7 separate regions of the Homo sapiens genome follow, and all the other regions are linked to region 5. The links are contacts of gene promoters, found by promoter capture Hi-C in blood cells and fetal thymus (Javierre and others, 2016). All regions are on one chromosome and are shown on one strand. Each heading gives the region's core, a stretch centred on a gene start or on the middle of the fragment in contact. The rest is flanking DNA. Distances are from core to core; before and after follow the strand shown. Region 1 has its middle 51 kb from the start of PSKH2. Region 2 overlaps ATP6V0D2 (ATPase H+ transporting V0 subunit d2). Region 3 has its middle 4.9 kb from the start of ATP6V0D2. Region 4 holds the start of PSKH2 (protein serine kinase H2). Region 5 holds the start of CA1 (carbonic anhydrase 1). Region 6 has its middle 30 kb from the start of PSKH2. Region 7 holds the start of LOC107986954 (a long non-coding RNA gene).

The links. Contacts are between HindIII fragments. The CHiCAGO score rates a contact against its expected background, and 5 or more counts as called.
Region 1: a contact is called between a fragment that was not itself captured here and the fragment with the promoter of CA1 in region 5, in 7 of 17 cell types (erythroblasts, M2 macrophages, endothelial precursors and 4 more). The highest score is 7.5, in erythroblasts.
Region 2: a fragment that was not itself captured here is called in contact with the fragment with the promoter of CA1 in region 5 in 1 of 17 cell types (naive B cells); the score reaches 6.1 in naive B cells.
Region 3: a contact is called between a fragment that was not itself captured here and the fragment with the promoter of CA1 in region 5, in 5 of 17 cell types (megakaryocytes, fetal thymus, total B cells and 2 more). The highest score is 6.6, in megakaryocytes.
Region 4: a fragment that was not itself captured here is called in contact with the fragment with the promoter of CA1 in region 5 in 5 of 17 cell types (endothelial precursors, total B cells, naive CD8 T cells and 2 more); the score reaches 7.2 in endothelial precursors.
Region 6: a contact is called between a fragment that was not itself captured here and the fragment with the promoter of CA1 in region 5, in 9 of 17 cell types (erythroblasts, megakaryocytes, naive CD8 T cells and 6 more). The highest score is 11.4, in erythroblasts.
Region 7: a fragment that was not itself captured here is called in contact with the fragment with the promoter of CA1 in region 5 in 5 of 17 cell types (naive B cells, M0 macrophages, erythroblasts and 2 more); the score reaches 7.6 in naive B cells.

Annotation. Positions count from the first base shown.
Region 1 is chr8:86,016,410-86,020,269 of GRCh38, reverse strand. It overlaps the pseudogene RPL36AP31. Among named protein-coding and RNA genes, the nearest start is that of PSKH2, 51 kb to the left of the region's middle. The HindIII fragment of the contact is 627 bases long and covers 1,385-2,011 here.
Region 2 is chr8:86,131,495-86,135,405 of GRCh38, reverse strand. All of the region lies in intron 2 of ATP6V0D2 (ATPase H+ transporting V0 subunit d2), which reads right to left. Among named protein-coding and RNA genes, the nearest start is that of ATP6V0D2, 35 kb to the right of the region's middle. RefSeq lists an enhancer at 770-1,322. The HindIII fragment of the contact is 2,170 bases long and covers 1,088-3,257 here.
Region 3 is chr8:86,092,053-86,096,011 of GRCh38, reverse strand. No RefSeq gene overlaps it. Among named protein-coding and RNA genes, the nearest start is that of ATP6V0D2, 4.9 kb to the left of the region's middle. The HindIII fragment of the contact is 280 bases long and covers 2,439-2,718 here.
Region 4 is chr8:86,066,334-86,070,260 of GRCh38, reverse strand. It overlaps PSKH2 (protein serine kinase H2), which reads left to right and starts at 593. Exons shown (of 3, transcript NM_033126.3): 1 at 593-823. The coding sequence starts at 639. The HindIII fragment of the contact is 951 bases long and covers 1,159-2,109 here.
Region 5 is chr8:85,375,540-85,379,896 of GRCh38, reverse strand. CA1 (carbonic anhydrase 1) reads left to right here and starts at 1,784. Exons shown (of 8, transcript NM_001128831.4): 1 at 1,784-1,851. RefSeq lists a promoter at 965-1,756. The HindIII fragment of the contact is 5,896 bases long and covers 1-1,991 here.
Region 6 is chr8:86,037,210-86,041,431 of GRCh38, reverse strand. No RefSeq gene overlaps it. Among named protein-coding and RNA genes, the nearest start is that of PSKH2, 30 kb to the left of the region's middle. The HindIII fragment of the contact is 1,474 bases long and covers 1,227-2,700 here.
Region 7 is chr8:85,977,882-85,981,716 of GRCh38, reverse strand. It overlaps LOC107986954 (a long non-coding RNA gene), which reads left to right and starts at 3,111. Exons shown (of 4, transcript XR_001745984.1): 1 at 3,111-3,177; 2 at 3,580-3,670. The HindIII fragment of the contact is 5,360 bases long and covers 1-3,835 here.

The sequences.
Region 1 (3,860 bases), core at 449-2,948, 640 kb before region 5:
GACAAATCACAGCAGGACCAACCTACCTGCAAAATAATCATCAGTCCCACTATACTGGGCCTGATTACCCACATGAAGTGCAACAAGAATCACTGTCCATATAGGCTCTTCTAAACTGGCTTTTCTGAAACCTCTCACAAGGCCATTTTAGTCAAAGCCCTGGGAAAATAACCAGTTCTTCCAACTGTATCCCATTATGAAAGAAAACAAATTTTTATTGAACTTATGCAAACAACCACGTTGTCATGAATTAAGAATATTCACAAATAGTTTATGAATTCTGGAGAAATTAGACAGAAAGAGAGAAATATGTCTCAAATTCTGCATACTCTACTTATTTGCTAAAGGCTATAAATAGCTCAAAGAAAAAAGTTCTGTCGACTCTGAAAAGCAAAAGAATCAGCAATGTTTCAAAGAAAAAAGCCATAAAAAAGTACTTCTGTCCTCCATTAGTTCAGTCCATGCAATCAACTTCTGCTCTGCTTCATATTGGATTTGTAAATGTTATTGACACATCCACCTTTTAATTAGAGTCCTGGACATTTTTCTCTAGTCCAGTGGCACAATCTCCAGTTATGAGAAACACGCATTTAAGAGTCCTTTTCATGAACTCTCCCAGAGAAGAAAGCCCTGGACTGTAGCTGATTATAAGCTGCTTTTTGCAAAGAATCAAAGCAAAACAATTGTGGAATGCAAAAGTTTCAGGACAGACACAATTGACAAGGAAATTTGGTAATTTTTGTGGCATATAAAAACTTAACATAATAATCATAATTATTACTGACAACATATATTAAGACATATCAAGATTTTAGGAATCTCATAAAATCCTGAAACACATTAACAATACATCTATATAAACATAACTCAACAGTTAACATTTATTTAACGTGTGTCTGGTTCTTCACCAAGTACTATAAACTCACTTTATAGTCTCCATTTTTCAGACCAGAAAACTGAGACTAGAAAAATAAGCAACTTGCCAATTGTCGTGCAGAGATGCTGAATTGCATAGAATGGACATGCTAATGTGAAGATTAATTTAGAATTGCATCTCCCAAGTTCTCTAGTGGTGCCTAGCACCCTAGTGGTGACAGAATATTGGAGCTTGGAGGGATTGTGGTGTATATATCCAGTTCATTGCCACCAGTGTACAGATATTTAACCTTTGGGAGGCAGAAGACACAAAACTTAATGTGCTCTAACAATACTGCCTATTCTAGTTCCTGTTGATGTTTAGGATGGCAAGTATATACTTTGTCAGTAGTGTAATACTCAAGTTAACTTATGTATACAGTAAATGCAGCCCTAGAAAGCTGATATCTTTATTCACAGTTCTGAGAAGCATCCAGCAGCTGTTTAGCTTTCACTCTCAGAGAAAGCTTTCTGGTGTCCAGAAACTTCTCCTTTGCCTCATTCCCTGATCCTCTGATAGTGGCAAAATGTGGGTTCTGTGTCCTTATTATGGCAGATAAAGACCTACTGATAAATCCAGTTGTCATGACTTGTTATTTCATTTATTCACTCAAGCAATTATTTATTTATTCATTAGATAACCTGACCAATATTAACTTTATTTTTTTAATTTTATTTTTTAAATTTAATGTAATTTGATTTTTTTAAGAGATGGAGTCTCCCTTTGTCACGCAGGCTGCAGTGCAGTGGCGTGAACGTGGCTTACTGCAGCCTTGACCTCCCAACCTCAAGCCATCATCCTGCCTCAATCCCGCAAGTAACTGGGACTACAGGCCTATGCCACCACGCCCAGCTAATTTTTAAATTTTTTGTAGAGATGGGGTTTTGCCATATTGTCCAGGCTGGTCTTGAACTCCTAAGCTCAGACGATCCACTCACCTCGGCCTTCCAAAGTCCTGGGATTATAGGCGTGGGCCACTGTGCCCAGCCTGACCCATATTTATTAAGCACTTAACCTGTGCTGTGTACTATCCTAGGCTCTGGGGATAAAAAGAAAAATAGGACATGATTCCTATCTTCAAGGAATTTACAAGCTTCTAGGAGAATCAGTCTGGTAAACAAAAAAGCAGTATAAAGATATCAGTACTAAGTTAGAAATAATGTTGTGTAAAGAAGAAGGAATAAAGAAGCTGTGATTCATCAAAGTATTATTTATGGTAATTACGGTATTATGGCAAGACCATGGGCTTCCTGACTATTCTAGGATTCATGTCACTCAAGTAACTATAAAAATTAGAGGCAAATTACCAATTAGAAACCATTGAGAGACAGCATGATTACATCAAAATGCTGTTATGATTTTATGGATTTAAGTGTGTGTATATAGATAGCACATATGGTAAAAAAAATAAGCGTACACTTTGAATCATTAACAAAACGGGCAGAGAACATGGGTGCTGATCGCTGAGTCTGAAAAATAGTACATGTCAGAGCATCGGGAATGAAATTGTCTGCCACACTCTCTTGTTAAAATGCAATCATAGACATCAATGGGCTTTGTTCTGCTTCTCCATCTCTTGCAGGTGGTTGACAAGATAAACTCTGAAAGATCTTCTTAGGAGATATTGTTTCTCATTTTTGTTTTCTTTCCATTCCTGTCATTCCACACTCTTGTCAGGGTTCTGTGGGCCTGGTGCCACCTGCCTCATGTCCAAGGGCACACAAAAAGACTGCCATTTTTGGCAGAGGGCCGCTGGGGGAATAACAACTTACAAAGGAAATACTTGTGAAAGGGAAGTACATACAAGTCCAGGGTCCAGGAAATATTTCTTTTTCCTCATGTACTTCTTTTCGAATGAGAACAAACTATGGTAACATATTCTAACTGCAGTGTTGTCGGCAAGATGTCCTCCTCTTCTTTGCTGAGCTAGTAAATCATTTTAGACTCCTCTGAAGACTTGGCCCAGAGCCCTATAACACTTATTGAAGCCAATTCCTCTTCTCATCAAGTAAGGACAGTAGTAATTTTCTTCCCTGGGGACATAAGTTTATGCTTGTGAAATTCAGAACTATAAATGGTCCAAATTTGGGAAAATGAAAAAATGATAATGTACTATAATATATAAAATATTATGATACTATAATTGAGGGTTACTTTTTTACCTTTCATTTTTTTTGAACATAAACTCAAGATTTTATTGTCTTCATAATAAAAGAAAAGATGACACTTAGAATTGGATCACTTGGCCCTTTCTCTTCTTATCTACTCCCAGTTCAAAACGCATCTGTTAATAGCCTTAGACGTGCAGTTGGGCTCAAAGCACTCAAACTTTAGCACAATCTTCTTTGTAGTTTTGGCCTTTTTCGGGATAATCAGCTTAGTCTGCCCACCATAGCCACTCTGCTTTCTGTCATAACGCTGCTTTCCCTGGGCATTCAGAGAATCCTTGCTCTTCTTGTATTTTGTCACTTTGTGGGGTTGGTGTTTGCCACACTTCTTACAGAAAGTCCGACGGGTTTTAGGAATGTTCACCATGTTTGTGTGAGTGCTATCACCACGGAAAGAAAGAGGCCGGGCCAGAAACAGAAGTATATAGCACCTTTTTACTTTTCTTTTGACAAGGGCACAACTGTGGAGAGTGGATTGTGTCTTAAAGCCAGATGGCCTTGTAATTGATGCCTTTTGTACTTACTAGCCAAGTGTACTTACGTTAATTTCTTAACGTCATTTGTCTCCTATATAACACCATTTACAGCAGTAGGATTAAATGTGAGTAGAGGACAAGGATACTGCTAAACACTAGCAGATGCCAGGAGCATACTCTGCCCCTCACGTTTTGACAATCAGAAATGTTTTCAGACACTGCTTGGGTGCCGAAATCATCCCTGGCTGAGAACCATGGTCATAGAGAAAGACACCTTGGACTTGGAGAATGGAAAGTGGG
Region 2 (3,911 bases), core at 923-3,422, 760 kb before region 5:
CAGATGATATTTTAACATTTCCATTTGATCTTAGAGCTATTCTTTCTCCTCCTGCTCCCTAGCTTATTTAAGGATCTCAAAGAAAACTATAATATATTTTCTGTATGATAACTACCACATTCTGCTGCTATAACAGTTGCTAAGAGGTCAAATATTATAGAGCCATAATTTGGTAAGTTAGAGGAATTGCTCTTCTCTGAATAAAAATTTTAGTACTTCAGTGTCATTAGCAATAGCTGAGAAATGACTGTCATTCACTAAGCACTCTGGCATGAGATAGAAAAAGAGAAACACCTTCTAAGAAAAACACAGTTCAGTGAAGAAGCTCTCCAGGGTATTACCTCTTCATTGTCACACCCACCCTTTCCCACCCACCACCCCCAGTGTCTAGAAAATGCGAATCAGTTCTCCCACTCTATAATTTTGCCATTTTCTGAATAATATATAACTGGCAGCAGATAATATGTGACATTTTGAGACTGGCTATTTTAACTCTGCTCAGTGTTCTTGAGATACATGTAATACATTCAAGCTGTTGCATGTAAACAGTTTGTTCCTTTTTATTGGTGAGTAGTATTCCATGGTATTGATATACCACAGTGTATTTAACCATTCACCTATTGATGGACATTTGTGGTTTTTTTCTAGTTTTTGGCTATTATGAATAACAACTGCTAAGAACATCTGTGTGCTGATTTTTATATTAAAATAAGTTTTATTATTCTTGGATAAATGCCCTGAAGTGCAGTTGCTGAGTGGCATAGTAAGAATATGTTTAGTTTTTTAAGAAACTGCAAGACTATTTTTCAGAGTAGCTGTCCTAATTTTAGTGCAGTTTTAAAAACTTTACTTCTTTTTAAGTGTCTTTTCCTTCCCTGTTTATAACTTATATTTCCTCTATGTATATCGAGAACCACATCAGACAGAGTAATGATTTTTGCTTCAACTGTGAAATACAATTAAGAAAACTCAAGAGGAGAAAGGGTATATTGTATTTACCCATATTTTTCTCCTTTCTGTTGTCCTTTCTTTTTTCCCATTGTTTCAAGATTACTCTTTTTATCATTTCCTTTGTGTTTCAAAAGCTTCGTTTAGCCATTCTTTTAGAGTAGGTCTGCTGGTGACAAAATCTCCTAGCTTTCCTTCATCTTAGAATGCCTTGATTTCCCCTTCATTCCTGAAGGATTTTCACTGAATACAAAATGCTATTTTTTTTTCTTGTCTTTAGTGCTTGAAAAATACTACACCGCTTGCTTCTGGCTCCATGAGGTGCCTAATGAGAAATCTGCTATGGTTCAAATTGCTTCTCTCTTATTGGTAAGGTGTCATTTCCCATAGCTTTCAAGATTTGTTTTGTCTTTTTTTCTTTCAGAAGTTTGATTATGACATGTCTTGGCCTGGATTTCATTGGATTTTTCCTGTTTGGGGTTTCACTTAGCTTCTTGAATCAGTCGGTGTGTGTCTTTTGCCAAATGGGGGGAATTTTCAGCCATTATTTCTTTGAATACTTTTTCAACCTTTCTTTTTTTCTCCTCTCCTTCTGGGATTTATTACTACTCTGTGTGTGGCCTCTATTGACACCAAGGCTAAAAAGAGGGCTCATTACTGCTGGGAGGTGGTCAAAGGCCCAGCTTCCCGCTCAGCCCTCTCTGACCCCACTTACAGCCGGGTAAGGGTAGACATCTGGGTCCCCATCGAGCATTTGCTGACAGGGGTGGGGTTGCAGTTTTTCCCATGGCACTTGGTTAGAGTAGAGCCATTATTATCTGAAGATTTTCTGCTTGTGGCCAGGCGCGGTGAATCACGCCTGTAATCCCAGCACTTTGGGAGGCTGAGGTGGGTGTATCACAAGGTCAGGAGTTCAAGACCAGCTTGGCCAATATGGTGAAACCTCGTCTCTACTAAAAATACAAAAATTAGCAGGGTGTGGTGGTGGGCGCCTGTAGTCCTAGCTACTCGGGAGGCTGAGGCAGGAGAATAACTTGAACCCAGGAGGCGGAGGTTGCAGTGAGCCGAGATGGTGCCACTGCACTCCAGCCTGGTGACAGAGCGAGACTCCATCTCAAAAAAAAAAAAAAAAAAAAAAAAAGACTTTCTGTTTGTGAAGCTGCCCCTTTCCTGGTCCTTTGGCTAGAGAGAACAGCCTTTCCTTGGGGGCATTTTTGTATGTGCCCATTGGCTTTCTGGGCTGTAAGATTTTCTAGCATCCAGTTAGGAGTGTATGAGGCAACCCGAAGGAAAATCCGAGAAACTCAAAACCAGGTCATTCCCTGGGTCTCAAGTTTCTTAGCCAATCAGTCTTCTTCTCTCTATCTTTTAGTCATTAGTGTCCTCCAAGACGCCAATACTTCAACCACAATAAGATAGCATCTTACCCCATTTAGAATGGACAGTATTAAAAAGACAAACAATAAAATATGCTGGAGAGAGGATGTGGAAAAAAGGAGATTCTTATACACCATTGGTAGAAATTTCAATTGGTACAAGTACTGTGGAAAACAGTAGGAAGATACCTCAAAAAACTAAAAACAGAAACACCATACAATCCAGCAATGCCACTACTGGGTATCTATACTAAAGAAAATAAATCAGTATGTCAAAGGGATACCTGCACTCACATGTTTATTGCAGCACTATTCACGATAACAAAGATATGGAATTAACCTAAGCATCCATCAACAGATGAATGGGTAAAGAAAGTATGGTACAGATACACAATAGAATACTATTCTGCCATAAAAAGAATAATATGTCATTTGCAGCAACATGGATGGAATTGCAGGTCAATATGTTAAGTAAAATAAACCAGGCACAGAAAGCCAAATATCATATGCACTCACTCATATGTGGGAACTAAAAAAAGTTGATCTCATAAAGGTAATGAGTAGAATGACAGATAATAGAGGCTAGGAATGGTGGGTGGTAGGGAGGGGGAGAGGAGGAGAAGTAGATTAAGAGGTATAAATATACAGTTAGATAAAAGGTATAAGTTCTATAGTTAGACATAAGAGCAGAGTGACTATAGTTAACAACAATGTATGACATATTACAAAATAGACTGATGGTTCCCAACACAGAATGACAAATACTCAAAGTCATAGACTCCTCAGATACCCTGACCTGATCATTACACATTCTATAACTGTAAAAAAAAAATTGCATGGACCCCATAAATATGGAAAATGTTATTTATCAATTAAAAAAACAACACACTAACACTTCAAATGGTCCTGTGGTTTGTTTAGTGCCCTAAAGCTTTTTATACCTCAGGGCTATACATCATAGTATGGTGTAAAAGGATGGTGGAAAAAGAACAGTTGTGATAAGGAGGTGATAAGGGGAACCCAGCACAGTGTTCTGACTTCAAGTACTCTTAGGTAGTTTTAGTATATATACATATAGGCACTCAGGATCTGGAAAGTGGTCATCTTATAATCACTCCTGTCTCCATAACCCTTGGAAAGCATCCTGTAGACCTAGGGGGACATGTATAACAGTGGAAAGGTTGCTGTCTTATAGAATGTTCAAAATTATTCACTAAGATAGGTTTTAATTTCTTTCTTTTTTAAATTTCAATTTTTGCATATGTTTTTAAATGGACATAAGGCTGGGTGCAGTGGCTCCCAGCTGTAATCCCAGCACTTTGGGAGGCTGAGGTGGGCAAATCACCGGAGGTCAGGAGTTCGAGACCAGCCTGGCCAACATGGTAAAACCCCATCTGTACTAAAAATACAAGAATTAGCTGGGCGTGGTGACAGGTGCCTGTAATCCCAGCTACTCGGGAGGCTGAGGCAAGAGAATCACTTGAACCCGGGAGGCAGAAGTTGCAGTGAGCTGAGATCGCATCACTGCACTCCAGCCTGGGCAACAAAGTGAAACTCCATCTCAAAAATAAATAAATAAAAATGGCT
Region 3 (3,959 bases), core at 1,329-3,828, 720 kb before region 5:
AAGCAAAAATGTCTCACTCCTGCTAAAGGTACTCGTCATAAATGCCATCAAGCTCACAAGAGATGAGAGGAAACCCAATAGAATGACAAGATCTGGAGTTTCTTTATAAATGGGTCCTTATGGTGAAAACATAATAAAATTGTCATTCCAGTGTTTAAACTACCAATGATGTTCAGGAGAGTGGGCTTTGGAATGTGGCAGGCATGGGTTTGTGGCTCCATCTCTCTAATGGCCAGTGTTTTCATGCGTAAAATAGAAATAATAACACCTGCCTCATAGGTTGTTGCAAAAATTAAATAAGATAAAATCTTTAGCATGCTTAGCACAGGTGGGCGTGTGTGCTAAGTACTTGGTGAAAGGAAGCTACAGTTTTAGTTATCCATGGTCAATGACAGTCTGAAAATATTAAATGGAAAATTCCAGAAATAAATAATTCATACACTTTAAATTTTGTGTCATTCTGAATAGTGTGATGAAATCTTTCTCTCGCCAGCCCCCTATGCCCTAGCCAGAACATGAATCCTCCCTTTGTCCTCCAGGCTGTAGGCACCCCCTGCTTGTGAGTCACTTAGTAGCCATCTCAATTATCAAACCAACTGTCAAGGCAGTTGTTTTGTGTTCAAATAACATTTATTTTACTTAATAATGGACCCAACGTGCAAGAGTAGTGCATCTAATTTATAGATAAACTTTAAATTACACTGGTATGTATGTACAGGAAAAAAACATAGTATATAAAGAGTTTGGCATCCGTTGGGGTGGATTAGGAGGGACTATTGTACAAAAACCACTGTAATCACATTTATTTATTTATTTATTTATTTATTTATTTATTTATTTAAGAAGGAGTCTCACTCTGTCCCCTAGGCTGGAGTGCAGTGGCGCGATCTCAGCTCACTGCAACCTCTCACTCCCGGGTTCAAGCGGTTCTCCTGCCTCAGCCTCCTGAGTAGCTGGGATTATAGGCACGTGCCACCATGCCCAGCTAATTTTTGTATTTTTAGTAGAGACGGGGTTTCACCATGTTGGCCAGGCTAGTCTCAAACTCCTGGCCTCAAGTGATCTGCCCACCCCGGCTTCCCAAAGTGCTGGGATTACAGGCGTGAGTCACTGAGCCTGGCCTGTAATCACTTTTAGATTGAATTTCTTAAATCCAGGAACAGTGCCTTATTCATTTTTCATTTTTCTTTTCTTTTTTTTTTAAAGAGACAGGGACTCACTGTCACCCAGGCTGGAGTGCAGTGGTGTGATCACGGCTCACTGCAGTCTTGAACTCTTGGGTTCAAGCCATCTTCCCACCTCAGGCTCCTGAGCAGCTGATACTACAGATGCACACCAACAGTCCTGGCTCATTTTTCCATCTCTTCAGTGCTTAGTAGCATGCCTTGTGGGGGCAGATAATTCAATACTCATTTCGTGAATTAACTAGAGTCAGAGTTTTAAAATGACTTAAAATTACTTTTACAGAATCTTTAATTCCCTGTTTCTCTAGGAAACACTATACTTGGCAAGTGTATCTGAAGAGTGAGGTTATTTTGTGGTTTTGTAGCCTAACACACATACATATATAATTGTGGATGCGTGTATACCTGTATAGGATGTATAGGAATTATTGTGACTTTTTGTCAACTTCAGGGGCTCCCAAGAGTCATTATCTTCATAGCATTAGAGGATCAATTTATTCTGCAAGGAAAGGAGATATTCCTTGAAGAGGTAAAGTGTCTGTTATTTTGAGCATAAAAAGTTTCTTTCTAGATGTGGTAGGTTCTTCAAAGCGCAATGCAAAAGCAAAGGAGAAGAAGGCTGCTTCCCACACAGCACACAGTCCTCTGATGTCTTCGATGCAGCTAAGGCAGCCAAGGCTTTGCCAACTCTAAAATAATTGTCAGGGTGGACAGTCATATTCACCCTCAGCCCCTGAAAGCATCTTTAGAGGCAGTGTGTGGTACACATTGCCCCTCAGAGCAGAACTATGATGCCATCGTTAATAGCCAATCAAAGGCCAGGTCAAAGCTCTCTCCTAGGACTATCAGCACTTTAAAAAAACAAAACAAAACTTTTAAACTTTTTAGGTTGGGTACAGTGGCTCATGCCTGTGATCCCAGCACTTTGCGAGGCGGAGGCAGGTGGATCACTTGAGCCTAGGAGTCCAAGACCAGCCTGGGCAACATGAAAAAATCACGTCCTTACAAAAAATACAAACAAACAAAAATTGACCTGGCTTGGTGGGCACGTGCCTGTAGTCTCAGCTACTTGGGAGGCTGAGGTGGAAGAATCAATTGAGCCCCCAGAGGTTGAGGCTTCAGTGAGCCTTGATCACGCCACTGCAATCCAGCCTGGGCAACAGAGTGAGAACCTGTCTCAAAAAACCAGAAACAAAAACCAAAAAAAATCCCAAAACAAACAAACAAACCAAAACCAAACCAAACTTTTAAGCTTTTTATGATGGGAAATTTTAAACATACAGGAAAGAAACACTACTATAATTAACCCCCACGTATCCATCACCTACCTTCAATAATTATGGACTCATGGCCAACCTTGTGTCAGTTATACAAAGGATCAGTAAAGTATTTTTTATATAGGTCAAATAGTAAATATTTTAGGAATTGTCGGCCATTTCAACTCTATTGAAATGACTCAACTTTGCTATCGTAGTGGAGAAGCAGCCGCATATCACACATAAATGAACGAATGTGACTGTGTTCCAGTAAAGCTTTATTTACAAAAACAGTTCGTGGGTCAGATTTGACTACTAGGGTATAATTTGCCAACCCCTGATCTATATATAACCTTGCTTGCTTTCTTCCCACCCTGAATTATTTTCAAGTAAAACCAAGATGTATTATTTTATCCATAAACATTTCAATATCTCTAAAAGATAAAGATCCTTTTGCAATATAATCACAATTCTATTAGCATACTTAAAGTTATTCCTTAATATCAACAAAATCTAGGCTGGACACGGTGGCTCACGCCTGTAATCCCAACACTTTGGAAGGCCAAGGCAGGTGGATTACCTGAGGTCAGGAGTTTGAGACTAACCTGGCCAACATGGCAAAACCCCATCTTTACTAAAAATAAAAAAATTAGCCGGGCATGGTGGTGGGTGCCTGTTGTCCCAGCTAAGGCTGAGGCAGGAGAATAGCTTGAACCCAGGAGGCGGAGTTTACAGTGAGCCGAGATCACTCCACTGCACTCCAGCCTGGGAGACAGGGTAAGACTCTGTTTCAAACAAACAAACAAACAACAACAAAAACCCAAAATCTAGTCAATGTTCAAATTTTCCCAATTGTTTTATAATTTTTATTTTATTTTTTTGCCGTCGGTTTATTTGAATAGGAGACACTACAATTGGTTTACGTGTTTTATATTTTCTTTTAGATATGCCTTCCCTCCTCTAACCCTTCTTTTTAAGAAACTGGTGGGTCATGTACCCTGTAGAGTTTTGCACATTTGGAATTTGCTGATTGCATCGTGTGGCGTCATTTAACATGTTGTGGTGTCCCCTGTAATTCCTATAAATTGGTAGTTAGATCTGGAGGCTAGATCACACTTATGTTAGATTTTTCTTTTGCAAGAACACTCACAACAGTACTGAATACTTGCATCAGAATGCATGTAACATTTGTCTCTCACTTTTTTTTTTCAAAGCAGCCATTTATGATCACCACCTAGATCCACTATTTCATTAGGAATAACAAAATAATTATATTTTTAGTTTATTACTCCTTCATTCATTAGCTGAAATACTCTAAAAAAGAAACTACATCAACTATTGGTTACCCTAGTATATAGTTTGTATAGAAAAGGCAGGATAGGCCAGGGGCAGTGGCTCATGCCTGTAATCCCAGCACTTTGGGAGGCCAAGGCAGATAGATCATGAGGTCAGGAGTTCAAGACCAGCCTGGCCTAGATGGTGAAACCCTGTCTCTACTAAAAATACAAAAATTAGCCGG
Region 4 (3,927 bases), core at 385-2,884, 690 kb before region 5:
TACGGGTTTTGTATATACACTGTATATGTATATACAGGTTTTCTCACTGTATTTGCTTAGGGTGTTCGTCTGGGTTCTAGACATCTATCGTGGCCCTCAGTTTTTCTCTCTTAGATGGATTACCCGGAAGATGAAGGTCATGAGTGCCAGACACAGGCCTTTGTCATCCGTTTAATGCAATAGAAGGCAGTGAAGTTATACTTTAAATATTATAAGCTCTTAGAATTTTAAATATATATATATATGTATGTTTAATGTTCATGTCATCCGAATATGAGCTCAGCGAAAAGTTCTTTAGAGGGACGATATCCTTTATACAATCGTATAATTTTATATGTTCACTTTGTCAGGTTAGAGATGCAGAAAGTGAAGCCCAGACAATTAGGCGCAGGTTCTGCCTGTTGGTTGACTTTGCTTTCATCACGTCAGATTACACACACAGACGGTGACCAGCGATGATCCAGGCGTCTCGGTCGTTAGCGGGTATCCTGGGGGCTGTCTCCCTGACCACGACCCCCCAGTGGGGTTTCTTTCCGAGGGTCCCGCCCCTCGCAGCTGCTCTTTGATAAAGGGCGGAGGAACGGGGCTGGCTGCTTCCCGAGTCCCCAGGTCCCGCGAGCGGCGGGCGTGTTGCGGGTATGGGGTGCGGCGCCAGCAGGAAGGTGGTCCCGGGGCCACCAGCGCTGGCTTGGGCCAAGCACGAAGGTCAAAACCAAGCCGGCGTCGGAGGCGCGGGGCCTGGGCCCGAGGCGGCGGCCCAGGCGGCGCAGAGGATACAGGTGGCTCGCTTCCGAGCCAAGTTCGACCCCCGGGTCCTTGCCAGGTAAAGCGCCACGTGAGGAACTGGCCTGGGACTGGGCTGACAAAGAAAAACCCCTGGCCAAGACCGCCTCGAGGTTCCCTTCAGCTTGACTCAATTTTGGACAGGGTTCTTTCGGATGATAGGCACTGATCTCCCCCTTTCTCTGCCCTTTTGAGATGTAAATCTTCTACAACCCAAGAGTGTCTTTTTCAGGCACCTGGCAGCCATCCCTTTGAAATGTAGTCATCAAGAGAGTTAGGGCCACTGTCTCCCAGTCTCTGTGGGAGGGCAGGAGCCTAACTTCCATAAGGGCCAGGTAGCAAACACAGATCTCATTGACCACCTCTCCCTAAGCTTCTCCCATTCTTTTCCACTGGCTCACCCCAGCGCTTAAAAACTTTCTTGCCTTTTGTTTCGAAGGCGTCCATTTTCTTTCCCCTGTTGCAGAAGCCTCGACTCCTATTGCAATAGTCTGGGATAAGCCTTCCTTGCTGTGTTCCATAAGTGCCCAGTACAATTTCTCTTTGACATCTCTGAACAGGGAGTTCAGAGGATGGGAAAAAAGAGAGCAGGAGCAGCAGCAAACAAGGGAAGGAATTCCTATCTTCGGAGGTGGGGGGTGGGGGTGTGAGAGGACTGTCTGCCAACCTCCAGCATCTGCGGTGGAAGACGGCTTTGCCTCTAATATCCTGGGGCTGGGTCCTGCCAGACCTGGTGTGTGAAGGATCTTCCACTAATTCTAAAAATTGGGATTACAGCGAGTGAACTAGAGATGCGCCTTTGAGTCAGCCAGACTTGAGGTCCAGTTCCATATCTTCTATCATGTACCATGTAGAACATTCCTTAGCTTTTTTCCTTCCTTCGTTTCTAGCTCTGTAAAATGGGAGTATCTATCTCATAAGACTGTTGTGAGCATAATTAAAGTAATACATGTAAATTATGCTGCACAGTGCATGGTACCAGTCCTCATGCAGACATTAGTGCAATGCTGATTATTGTTTTCATGAAGTACAAATAAGCCCTTCCTATGTAGAAGATTTCAGGTTGGTTGGCCTCCTGAGTGTACCATGTTGGACATGTTGGACATTTTGACCAAGTAAATCACGGAATCCCCTTCTCCTCTGTGTGTTTGGGGAGACACAATAATGGGTGGCTCAGCTGGCTTCCCAAGGCACTGCTGGTCCTAGAATTGCATGCTCACTTCGTCACAGTGCTCTGTCCAGAATCTATGCAGAGCCATTTCCTGGCCTCCTTGAGAACTTTTAGTACAGTGACTCCTGGAGGATTAGTTCGGTGGCTGCTAAGCTTACAGAAGAACAAGGCTGGCTAATATGACTGAACTGAATCTGAGTAGGTACAGGGTCTTGTCAAGACTGAATTGGTTAAATGGCATCTCTGGTCATTTGTAGTCAGAGAGATGATGCTAGTCTGGTCTAGTTTTCATCCACCCTACTAATTCCCAATCCAGGGGTAGACCCAGCCCCATAGAGTGTAAAGGCATCACAGAAGTAGAGGATCTCAACATTATAAGGGCTTCAGAGATTTTAACTCAAGGCTCATCTTTAACCAATGAGTAGTTGTGTCCCCAAAGGTTAAGTGACTTGTCCAAGTTAGTGGTAGAATTGGGACTAGAACACAGTCGTCTTCCTTCTCCGTTGTGATTCCATCTATAACTTTTGCAGAAAAGAGATGATAGAATTTAGATATGAGTATATTTACTTTCTTGTTGGGAGTTTATTATAATTGTTTCTCTCAAGCAGATTGTAACACTATTATTATTTCCTTGTTTCAAATCTTTAATCTATGTTCAAAAATTCCCAGTTTGTATCATAGCAGCTGAGGTTAAAGTAATATTTCCAATTTACGTAGTCTCTGGGATGATACAAAATTGTCCAACCTACTAAACTGACTCTGAGGCTACTCTTTAAGAGAGTGGAGGGGTAAAAGTGAAGGAAATGAAAAGACCTTATAAAGGCATTCTTCCCAGCTTGATGTGATCTTTACTTAATGTTTGCAAAATATATATGATGATTCAGGAATAATATGTATTCAGTGAATGATTCTTTTGTTCAGTGTTTATTGCTACTCCTCTGTGCTAGGCACTTTACAAGGTATAGCCACGCAAATCATAAAGTTGGTCACCATTCATGGCAGTTGAGGACTCACGAGCAAGGCTGTAGCTATAAGAATTTGTTATGGGACAAATTGAATAACAATCTGAGGCATTTATTTCCACCACTCTAAATCTTGGCTTCAAGTGTACTGTTTCCTCCAATGCCAAATTACTAGCATTTTTTCAAATATTGGAAATATGAAGCCCCCTTAACAGTATTGAATAAAGCTTCTTTTATTTGAGCAAAAGCGTGTAGTTCTCAGAAATGGTAGTTTGTTTGATATGATTAATTCTGTGAACAAATGAGTTTGATGGCAGCTTTGAGGGCATAGCGATAAATTAGCATTTACAAAGTGCTTTCATCCACAATAGAGGTAATATAAAACTTGGTTGGTCTGCAAAGCAATAGAATTTGAAATGCCTGTGATTATCTTCAAAATCACACTGAGAATGCATGTGAATAGAAAAGCAGAGTTGGAAAGGGAAAAGGGGAAAGAATCTATTTAAGATTACTAAATTGCTATCTGTTTTGATAAGGTAATTGGCCAGAAAATTAAATGCTCTGTGGAGAACAAAGCTGTTTTCTGTAATCTGGTACAGCCAAATGTCATTTTTATTCAATACACACAGGAATATAAAGAACAAACAAGAAGGCAAAAAAAAAAGTTACAGGAAAAATAAGCTCAATAAAAGAAGTAAGACTATTTAAAGCATAGTTTAGTATTTGCATTTGAATCTTTGGTATTGAATATGTGATATAAAAACGTGCCTTCTCCCTGGGTACTCCCTGAGTACATTCCATTCTCTGTCATCCTTAGCTAGGAGAGGTTTTATTAAAATGAAGTCCAGGCACAGTGGCTCATACCTGTAATCCCAACACTTTGGGAGGCTGAGGTGGGCAGATCACTTCAGGTCAGGAGTTCAAGACCAGCCTGGCAAACATGGTGAAATCCCGTCTCTACTAAAAAAAATACAAAAATTAGCCAGGCATGGTGGTGTGCACCTGTAATCT
Region 5 (4,357 bases), core at 535-3,034:
TGCTAATCCCACCCACTTCTCCTGCCTAAAGGGTAACCTGACTGAAGTATTCCACCCTGTGTGCTCTCCTAGGAGTAAAAGGAGCATCTGCTGGTCTCCGACTGTCAAACCATTTATTCCCTTCCATCCTCCTCGCCTTCCCTTTCTCATTGTCAGTATCCCTACTCCCACCCCTATCTTTTCCGTCCTAACAGCATCTTCTCCTCTTGCCCTCTAAAAGACTACGTAAGTAAAATTCAAACCCACTGCCCCAGCTTCTCTGATATTTATACAGACATCCAAAATACAAACACATTTGACTGAAGTAGGCTCTTCTGCACTGACTATCCATAACTCATCACCCTGCTTCCACATATCCCACATCACACATTTACCCAACTGATAATTGCCCCAGAGATGAAAAATACTGAGAAATGAAAACCACTTCCAAACGGCCTTTTCTTCTGTATTGGGGTGCCCCCTCATGGCAAGTGGCAACTGCACTCGTATTTCCTCAATACATACCACAGATGGGCTACCCAATGAACAACTGCATATTCTCACCATATGCCCAACAAAAGCCACTGTCTTCCTCCAGTCCCATTCTTTAGTAATTTCCCTTTACCTAAATCAAGGTACAATTTTCCAGTCTAATGGTAATGCCACAAAACTATATTGTGTCCCAACCAACAAGGGTGTTTATCCCCTCTCCTTTGCCCTTCCATTACTCTGAAACTGGAAGCCACGAGATGCATTCTGGCCTCTCTTGGCATTCCTATTTATATAAATGTTAATTATTCTTTCCCTACCCAGCCAAATGTCATTGATGTGCCACATTTGTACCTATAATACTGGGACTCACCACTGCTCTGGGACTTGCTGCGATGGCCACAAGGACCATTGCTTTAGCCCAACAGTCAAAAATAATTGATGCTACCCTACAAATGTCCAAAACTCTAGTATATCATATTTCTAAGTTACAGCAAATATTAGTCCTGCTAAACCAGGGAGCTTTGGCAAAAATGTTTTTTGACAGTAAATTTGTCCTTGATTATATATTAACTAGTCAAAGAGGTGTTTGTAACATTATTAGAGCTTCTTGTTGTAGGTGGGTTAACACCACCAATCAAGAGGTCATTCTAACAGAAAGCCTGGATCAGAAAACCATCACCCTAAAAAAACATGCCTTACATATTTAACACACTCTGAAATCCAGTCAAAATATGACTAAAGGCCCTTGCCATGACTGATGTATTCTCCTGGCCAACGCCAAACAAATGGGAGCCTGGTTACGAGTCAGCCTTCAGGGACTTGTCACATTTCTACTTGGTTTCTTCCTTGTTATTGTCATAATAAAATGTTTTCTATGCTGTTTAGTGCAACTTAGGCCCTATTCTGTAGAAGTCTCCTCTACTATTCAGGCCACTCAAACACCCCAAATAATTGAGTTCAAAATCGACATCAAGATATAAAGGAATCAGTGACTAAATATATTTCATATATGGTATTTTTATTGATTATTGTGCTGTCTTGACCTAGTATGGAGGCCTTGGCTAGAGGCTGGTCAGTTTCCTCTCTTGAGCAGCTGATTAAATCCACACCCCAACCACTTCCCTTATCAGGTTCTCACACTCTGGGGCCACTATGTACCCACTCTAATCACCACAGGGCCAGACATCAGACAATTAAGGACAGCGCCCATGCCCCAAAGCCCGCCAAAATTATGCAAATTATTCAAAATTATTCAACCTAGCTAACCCCACCCTTTTTGCTGTACATAAGCTGCCCATTCCCCCTCCAGCCTGTGGTACCCAGTCCTCAGGTGCAACCCCCTGCGTGGTCCTCTGTGGCAGCCTTCTCTCATTCAGAGCTGTAAGTAACAAAGACTTCTGCCTTTCATCTAGCTGAGCATTGAAGTGTTTTATCCGACTGCCAAAAGAATCTTTAAATCTTGTAAAATACAGTCCTACCTACATCTTAATTACTATTCAATGAATGAAAGCTGCAAAGCTTAAAAAACCTTTATAGTTTTTCTAAACCTTTTATATTTATCAAGCAGATCTCTGTAAATCTGTAAATCTGAAAAGGATAATATAAATTACCTTTTTTTTTTTTGAGACAGAGTCTCACTTGGCAGCCTAGGCTGGAGTGCAGTGGCACCATCTCTGCTAACTGCAACCTCTGCCTCCCAGGTTCAAGTGATTCTCCTGCCTCAGCCTCCCGAGTAGCTGGGATTACAGGCACATGCCACCACACCTGGCTAATTACTGTATTTTTAGTAGAGGGGATTTCACCATGTTTGCAAGGCTGGTCTCGAACTACTGACCTCAGGTGATCTGCCCTCCTCAGCCTCCCAAAGTGCTGGGACTAGAGGCGTGAGCCACTGTGCCCAGCCAATATAAATTACCATTTAAAATTATTCCATGACTAATGTTCAATTTGACGTTAATTCCCCTAAACAAATAATGCAATTGATAGACTTGGTTAATTAAGTTCCTTTAAATATTATATATTATATCAATTACAAATTTAGTCTACCTGAATCTCTCAAGCATTTCAAATGCCTGACACATTAGTATCTTTTATACATCTTGCAAGTTTATAAAAGGAGGGAGGGGGCTCTAATAATTAAAGCAATTCCAGTAAAAGTAATAAACCAAATTTATGCAGTAGTAAGTTATGTTCTCTTAAACATTCAAACACTGTGTATAGACTGAAGAAAATGCTCTTGTACTTTAAAATTGAAATTATATGGTTCATATATCTGATTTTCTAATATATCAGGTTATATTAAATGCTTCAAGTAACTTAACAAACAATCTTTCATAGGTTATCTCAAGGATTAAATAATTAAATTTCTAAAGTTAATACAAATGTGTTAATATTGTGGATTTGACTAACTTCAACATTCTTATAGTTATTTCTCTCTTCTCCCAGTATTGTAAATCCACTTATGCAAATAAAGAGAATAGATAGATGTATGATCTGATTGGGCTGAGGATACTGTATCAGAGAATCAAGGCCAGGGTTGAAGTGTCAGTTAAAGAATTTGAGAGAGGGTCAGGGACCTAATTAGGTACCACACATGCCCAGGGTGCCTCTACACGACCCGAAAGTCAATCTGCTGGGCATCTCCTTGAGGTAACAGAGCTTTCCAAATTCACACTGTTTCATGCAGTCTAGTATATCATGTGTACCCTTACCTAGTTTTATTTATTTATTTATTTATTTATTTATTTATTTATTTATTTATTTATTTTTGAGACAATTTCTCTGTCACCAGGCTGGAGTGCAGTGGTGTGATCTCAGCTCACTGTAACCTCTGCCTCCTGGGTTCAAGCAATTCTCTTGCCTCAGTCTCCGGAGTACCTGGGACTACAGGCATGTGCCACCACGCCCGTCTAATTTTTGTATTTTTAGTAGAGACAGGGTTTCACCATGTTGGCCAGGATTGTCTCAATCTCTTGACCTCTGATGATCCGCCTACCTCGGCCTCCCAAAGTGCTGGGATTATAGGTGTGAGGCACCGTGCCCGGCCCCCTTACCCAATTTTTAAAGTTACCTCTTTTATAACTTTTTTGTTTTTTTGAGACAGAATCTCACTCTGTCACCCAGGCTGGAGTGTAGTGGCATGATCTCTGCTCACTGCAACCTCTGCCTCCCGGTTCAAGCAATTCTCGTGTCTCAGCCTCCCGAGTAGCTGGGATTACAAGTATGCGCTACCACACCCGGCCAATTTTTGTATTTTTAGTAGAGATGGGGTTTCGCCATGTTGGCCAGGCTGGTCCTGAACTCCTAACCTCAAGCGATCCACCAGCTTGGACCTTCCAAAGTACTGGGATTAAAGGCATGAGCCACCATGCCCAGCTTCTTTTATAACTTATAACTGTGTAATTTGATAGTTGAAATTCCCTCTATAGGATATTATTCACTACTCGACTGAATTCAATCTCTTTATTGCCTGATTGGAGTCAACTTGCTTTTTACATGTTTTATATCCAGTTCAATATCAAGAATCCTTTTGTCATTTTATTGACCATTCCCTACGTGATTAACACTATCTACTGAATACTGTATCTCAGAATATTACCTACATTTGCATCAAGCTCATGATCTATAGCTCACCTACATCCACCATTCTATTTTTGAAATTTGGGATAGCATGTGCCAGGATACAGTTGTTCTGCCTGAGTCTTCACTGCACCTCGAGTTATTTTGAGGTTCATCCATCTTATCTGAACTTTCTCCGTGCTCTGGATTTTATTCCTCTCCAAGAGACACAAACTCATTTAGAGCATGTAGATCTTCCCTTGGGATGTTTCTGCCTATTTTATTCCTTGTTTCTATCATGCCAACATTTGTTCTAATCTTTCTATTT
Region 6 (4,222 bases), core at 714-3,213, 660 kb before region 5:
CCCTTCAAAGAAGAAAGCAGATACATGCTTCAATGTGGTCATAAAATTACAACAAATAATTTTAATTAGTTGCTTGAGGGAAGCACATTCATTCCTGACCCAGACTGAAAAGAATTTCTTGTGGGATCTCCCAGGGAGGATGTACAATGTAATTAACAAGTGCAATGCAATCAGCAACATCCTCGTAGTAAACACAGTGAGCAGTTTCCACAGGTTCTTGTTCATAATGTCCCTCAATGTCGGCCAGTGGGTAATTTGATGAAAACAAGTCCAGGGAGCTCAAAAGAACATGGTCCAGGGATGGAGCTCCATGTTTGTCTGGATTACTGGAGAGAGGGATTTTTAGAAGATTCAAATGAAGGAATAGCTTACTTGCTTTTCAAATAATATTCCAGAAATATTGTTTCTCACCCTGATTTTGGTTTGCACTGCACAGCAGTGATTCCAGGTCCTACACGTGACATTACCTGCAAGGTGGCTGCCTGCAGTGCCAGCTCAGGGCACAGCCATGTGGGTGAGCTGGCAGCCAGTGGGCTGGGCTGACAACCTGTGCCACACACACGCTGGACAGAAGCTGCCTCCCCTCCACATGGAGGTGGGATGAGGGCATATCCTTGGATGCCACCAGGATTTTCTTCAGAAATTGGAGCCTGCTGCAGTGCCCAAAAGAAGGGGCAACAAAGGCCACCAAAACTCCACAGTAAATGGCATGGATTATTTTAATATTTGAAAAACCTTAAAGTGACTGTGGCAAAATACTTACTTCTGATACATAAAATAAATTTCATAAAGTGTCACATGATTTTTATTGTTAGTGTCCCCTCTTGGTGTACCTTCTTCTAAAATAAACTGGCATAAAGAACTGTTTCTAGGGAAATTGAATGAATTAGTGTGTTATGTAGAATTAATATCTTTATGCTAGTTAAAAGTTGGGGAACCTCTGATGAAAATGATGACTTGGATTTAAAAATAGATCTCTAGTTCTTCTTCCCAGCAGATATCCTATAGGAGGGTCATTTATCTATTGAAAGCATACCTAGTTTGTGATAAGAGAGCCTCTTCATCTATATTTTGGCTACTTATGATTTTATTTTTATAGGATTCCTTATCAATTATTAACACATTTTCTTGATAATAAATCATCTAGGCACAGATGGAATCTCCTCCCACTGGTGAAGGCAAATGCTTGTCTCAGCAGAAGAGCAGAAAAGTAAGAGCAAGAAGCTTTTCCTTGGATACTTTATGCCACAGCAAAGCCAGAGAGAAGCCAATTACATTTGCTTCCCATGATGCTGCAAAGGTTTGGGGAGAGTAGGAAAATCTTGGACTTTTATATTGAGTCCTTGATCACCCACACCTCCTAGCCCCCTTCAACATCAACACCTCCGGCATTTAAAAAGTGGGGCAGTGAGTCTGTAGCAGGAGGATGCAGAGGCTGCTGCGTGTTTACGGAGCCGTCCAGGGGATTAACCGACTGGGTTCAGCTGGGTAGTTCTCTTTTGGATCTAGAGGCGGAGATCTCCTTGTTCTCACAAAATGTCTAAAGTTAGATTCATGCCCCAGGCAGGTCTCCTGGTACCAACTTGGTGTGGCGGCTCTGGCCACAGTTTAGAGCAACTTCAGAAGCATGCTGTTTCACTCTGTGCCAGAGCTGGCTTCAGTTTTGAAGCGATTAGCGAAGCTCAGCGCTGGGCGCCTTGCATTAGCATTGCTTCAGCGCTAAGGACATTCCTGGCCACAGTCACTGCCATTTTCCCCTACCCACAGGTGTGAGTTAGAGACAAGCAGAATAGTGAGCAGGGGGTGGATCATGCGGGAGAGAGCTTTTCATGGCCTTTAGGACAGACTTGTGCTTAGAAGGGAAAAAGAAAGCAAAAGGGAAAGGAATCGAGAACGTGACCACTTCTTAGCACACACTCCAATGTCCTTAAAGCAACCCAGGGACTCTTCTTCCTCTGCCAGAGTTCATCTGAAATAAAGCCCCCCTCCAGAGTGGAGAAGCCACCCCAGAGTTATTTGTGAATCACAGCTTAGGTTTGAGGGTTTCACTAATCCAGGCACCAACCAAGGCAGAGGACCCGGGACTGGGACTGGCATATTTCCAAGAGATGGCCAGTCTCCATTGGCACTCGCAGACAAAGCGGGAGACACTAACAGCTGAGGGGACCAGGCTTATTTTTCTCTGGCAGGAAAACCAGGGAAGAAGGAGGCAGTTTGGAAATGTGGCTGTGCACAAATGCCAACTTCAAAGTGCTCTGTGTACAAAAGCCAGCACAGAAAGTAGGCTTCTTAGTGGAAAGAAGTGCATTGCCCCAGTGGAACTATAGTACATGAAAGATAAGAATTACTGAAACAACTGTTTTCTATATTGCAGTATGGGTGATTCTGAAAATAGGACCTCTTTGTGAAGAATAGCCTGTGGCTGCTGGATACAAAATAAGAGAAAAGAAGCGAAATCAGTCCAGGCCTGGGCTCTTAACATTCATACCTATGCAGACTTCAGGGAAGAAAAAAATCTCTGAGCACAATTTTATCAAAAGCCTTTACAAAATTGGTAGATGGATTGAAACATGGGTGTTGTAATTTTGAAAATGCAGACTTTTTAAAAAAAATTCTGATAGCTTTTCAAAACAAGGAAAGAAGTAAATCTCGTTGAGAAACAGACATCTAACCACTACATTGCAAAGTAGTAAACAAGCTTTTCAGCAATAATGAAGCATAATTCATCATATTTGTCTTATTAAATATAATTTTTATGAAAGTAAAATAAATCCTATGTTAATAAATAATTATATTTTACCATTAATAAAGACAAGTTAAAATTACTTTTAAAGAATTGTTTTATTTTTAGCTTGTCTTTTTGAAATTTCTAGTTTTGCACAATTTTCCTGAAGTGTATGTTCATATAATGGCATATGTAGATAATTTAATAGTAAACAAAAATAAGTAAATATATTTACTGATAAAGACTAAATAAGAAAGTTTGGAGACCATTAATCAAAGCTATCAAATGACATTTCTAATAATCTGCACACTCAGAAGGATTAAAGTTATTGATATTATTGAATATCCTGATGTTTGCTTTGGACTCAGGAATGCAACCTCAACTGAATTTTGTCCACAGAGTCAAAAGCAAAGGAAAGGCCAACAAAAGCCACAGAATATCTTTGTTATTCCTAGCAGATTTTTTTCACAAGAAGATTAAGAATATAATTGTTGTTTATATCCCAGCCTATAATTTATCAGAAGAGAAAAACGGGAAAATGGAATCTTTTTTTTTGCAGTGTCTGATAAGTTAATAGTTTACATCTTAGGGAAAGAAACAGATTACCTTTTTAAAGATAGGAAAGCCCACCTCTAGTTGCAGAAGGAAGGGATATACTTGTAGAAGTTGTAAAGATAGTCAGAGGCCAGGATGGAAGCCCAGTCTTCCTAATAGTCTTTAAGTAGTTCTGTGGTCGGAGCATCACATTGTTAGTCAATGCACATCCATTTTTTTTCAGCCTTCTCTGTATACAAAGCACTGCTATTTTAAAACTTTCTTTCACAAAGTTTTGTTCTGCTAAGATCACCTTCAATCCTTAAGAATGCTGTAGTTATGTATATTGAGACAGGGTCTTGCTCTGTTGCCCAGGTTGGAGCACAGTGATTCGCCCATGGCTCACTGAAGCCTCGATTCCGCAGGCTCATGTGATTCTCCCACCTCAGCCTCCCTAGAAGCTGGGAGTAGAGGCGTGTGCCACCACGCCCAGCTACTTTTTATTTTATTTTATTTTATTTTATTTTATTTTATTTTTGTAGAGTTGGGGTTTCACCATGTTGCCCAGGCTGGTCTCAAACTCCTGGGCTCAAGCAATCTACCCACCTTTGCCTCCCAAAGTGCTGGGATTACAGGTGTGAGCCACTGCGCCTGACTGTAGCTATGTATTTACCCAGTTTTATTTTTAAATTTATTTTTATTTATTATATATTTATTTATTTTTGAGACAGGGTCTTGCTCTGTTGCTTAGGCTTGGGATCGTGCCTAGGGGCACAATCATGGCTTACCTCAGCCTTGACCTCCCAGACTCAAGCAATCCTCCCACCTCAGCCTCTCTGATAGCTGGGACTACAGGCACATACCATCATACCTAGGTAATTTATAAAAAAAAATTTGGTAGAAATGGGATCTCACTATGTTGCCCAGGCTCGTCTCAAACTCCTGGGCTCAAGCAACCCTATG
Region 7 (3,835 bases), core at 566-3,065, 600 kb before region 5:
TTCAAGTGATTCTCCTGCCTCAGCCTCCCGAGTAGCTGGGATTACAGGCGCCCACCACCGCGCCTGGCTAAAATTTGTATTTTTAGTAGAGATGGGGTTTTGCCATGTTGGCCAGGCTGGTTTCAAACTCCTGACCTCATAATTGGCCCCAGTTTGCTAATTCTTCACCTCTTCATATAATTATTTAATAATTAATTTTAAGGTACTATGAGTAAAGCCTAGTCAATACAAACCAATATCATCATTTTTTTTTCCTGTGTTTCTTTTTTTCTGCACTTATGACACTCTGGTTTGTTTTTTGGAGGGGTAAGACTGAATTAAGTGTTACTCCATACAAACCAGTGTCTTTAAATTTGATTTTAGCTCAGTTAACAAATGAAGGAGACAAAAAAGCCACAGCATCTATAGCCTGGTTGTTTAGAATGATGAGGTTGTTAACATTTTGGCTCCTCATCTTTCATTTTTCACCTGCAGCCAATACCATGTTGCCACACACAGTCTTCTTTGTATCTTGCTGTTTGATTATGTCAATGTTTATTTTACAGGCAACTGGTGCCCATGAGGTCACCTAGGGGAGACCCCACGTGTGTGTGATGTACATTTTTAAGGAGCTACTGGTACAGCAGTGCACATTAATGAGCAGGTGAAAGCTACAGAGCAGCTCCAGTAGCAGCATGACAGTGTGAAATTGTAAGTGGTGATGTCTGAAGATGAGTTTGGGAAATGCAGACTCTGCCTTTCTCGTGCACTCATATGAAAAGTCACCTGGGGAGCACTGGATTCTAGGTAAGTTGTTCAAAGAGGAAACAGGCCAGGTGCGGTGGCTCACACCTGTTATCCCAGCACTTTGGGAGGCTGAGGTGGGCGGATAATTTGAGGTCAGGAGCTTGGAACCAGCCTGGCCAACATGGTGAAGTCATGTCTCTACTAAAAATTTGAAAATTAGCTGTGCGTGGCGGCGTGTGCCTGTAATCCCAGCTACTCGGGAGGCTGAGGCAGGAGAATTGCTTGAACCCAGGAGATGGAGGCTGTAGTGAGCTGGCTGTACTCCAGCCTGGGTGACAGAGCGAGACTCCATCTCAAAAAAAAAAAAAAAAAGAAAAAAGAGGAACAGCCCCTGTGTTTAGCAGGTCATTGGGTCGCAGTAATGAAATGCTTGTGAATAAATTCCAGGTTAATATTTTCAATTTTAAATGCAGCCAAAACTGATCACGTTAGGATGCTTTCCATACCTCAGCCTTTGAGCGAAATGTATATCTTCACCCCTACAAATGAAGAGAACTGGGGGGTCTCCCTGCTTTAAACCTCTAGAGACTTTTTGTTCTGCAGACTGTACAGGAAACATGGAACCAATATCTGCCTGGCTTCTGATGAGGCCTCAGGGAGCTTTTACTCATGGTGTACAGTGAAGAGGGAGCAGGCCTGTCACATGACAAAAGAGGAAGCAAGAGAGAGAGGAGGAGGGGCCAGGCTCTTTTAAACAACCAGCTCTTGTGATAACTCATGATCATGGGAAGGACACCAAACCACTCGTGAAGGATCTGCCTCCACGACCCAAACACCTCCCACCGTGCCCCACCTCCAACATTAGGGATTACATTTCAACCTGAGATTTGGAGGGGACAAATATACAAACCATATCACTGTAGTTTGGCAGGTTTTGGCCATCTTTCTCAGCTTTTAGCTTTTGAATTTCAGCTTCTGCAAAGGTTCTAAATATAATATAATAATAATATCTACCATATACTGATTATGCACCAGACTAGGTGCTTAATGTATTACATTAAAACCTCATGACTCCACAAGGACATATATTGCCTTTATTTCACAGATGAAGAAATTGTGAGAGATTAAGCCACTGCTCAAGGCCTCTTAGCTAACAAATGCTTGAGTCACATTTTGAATGAAGGCCTATGTGACTCATGTTTGTTTTTGTTGAAGTAAAATATGCATATGCCAAGCAATAAGAAGAGGCCTACAAATCACGAAATAGCAATTGATGATCACCTCTCTTCATTCCCTATTTTACTTCCCACTGGCCAACACCTTCAACCATCAATTTTCTCTAATGGTGTTTAACTCCACATTTCTAAGTAATATTCTTTGTGATGGTTAATTTTATGTGTCAGCTTGACTGGGCTAAGGGATGCCCAGATAGCTGATAAAACAGTATTTCTGGGTGTGTCTGTGAGGGTGTTTCCCAAAAAGATGAGCAATTGAATCAGTAGACTGAGTAAAGAAGAGCCACCCTCACCAGCCTGGGTGAGTATCATCCAATCTGTTGAGGGCCTGAGTAGAAAAAAATGATGGAATAAGGGCAGATTTATTCTCTTTTTTCTTTGAGTTGGACATCCATCTTCTGCCCTCAGACACTGGTTCTTGGAATTTCAGAGTTGGGCGAGGAGTAACACCATTGGCCCCCTGTTTTCAGGCCTTCAGACTCTGACTGGGACTTGCACCATAGGCACTCCTGGTTTTCAGGACTTTCACTTAAACTGGAACTATATCACCAGCTTTCCTAGGCCTCCAGCTTGCAGGCAGTAGATTGTGGGACTTCTCAGCCCCATGCTTGTGTAAGTCAATCCCTCATAATAAATCTCCTATATATCTCTACATATACTGTTGCTTCTGCTTCTCTGGAGAACCTGGCCTTATACATGCATATACCATTGTTTCTTTTTTATTTTAAATTAAAAATTACATGAGAAATAAATAAATTTACATTCTCATTGTAAAAGATTCAAACAGTACTGAAATTCATTGACTAGAAAAGTTCTCTTTACTTCCCCAATCCTACTCCCCAACCTACTTTTTAATTTTGTATAATGAAAAGTTTTACACACAAATAAATGTGGAGAGGACAGCATATTGATTGAACCCCTGTGGCCACTCTCAGTAATCTTTGATAGCATCCCTGCTTTCAGGCATAACAAATGTCCCAGGCACATCCTGTGCATTTCTTATTCCAGACCTGAAATCAGGCATTTCTCCAACGAATGTTCATTCTTTTTCCTGGAACATGATATTGAGAGACTCAGCAATATCTGTTAACTTCCTGTTACATAGATGAGGAGTTTGCTCTCTTGTGTCATTCTCTGGCCTTAATAGCTGTATTCTAACTTTGGGTTAAGGCAGTATTAATGGATGACATTATTATGACCACGTAATATAATTCATGTATGTATTATGACTATATTTCTATTCTTACATAATTTTTATCTTACCCTTGAGCTATTTATTGTTCTTTTATTTTTATTTGCTTAGTTTTCTATGTACCTTATTCTGTATAATCAAGTCCCCTAGCTGTTTCTTAATGAACATTTCTTGACAAACACATCAGAAAATCTATAACTCTCATTTTTTATTTTAATTTTTTTTGTTCTGGACATTTCTTTCAGTCGTTCTATTCAATTGTGTACTGGTTATTTTCTTGGCCTATTGTGAAGCTGTTATTCTGAGGCTTTTTCTTTTTCTGTCATCAAGAGAATTCTGTTTGATGTTCTTCTATGTTGAATCTCCTTGTTTTCGTTTTGGAACTTGTGTCTTCCTTTTTCTGGGTTTATTCCCTTATTTTGATAGTGAATACCCTCAAGTAAACTTCTAAGAAAACTACAGATTTGGAGCTTCAAATGCCTTGGTGAAGTTTCTAAGAACTTGGATGTCTAAAAAGGTATTTATTCCACCATTGCTCTTGATTAATAGCTTGGCTGGGTATGGAATGCAAGATTGAAAATCTTTTTCATAAAAAATTTGACAATGTACCCCTATTTGTTTCTAGTTTCTAGTGTTGCCTTAAGACTATGATATTATTCTTATACCTGATCCTTAATAAATG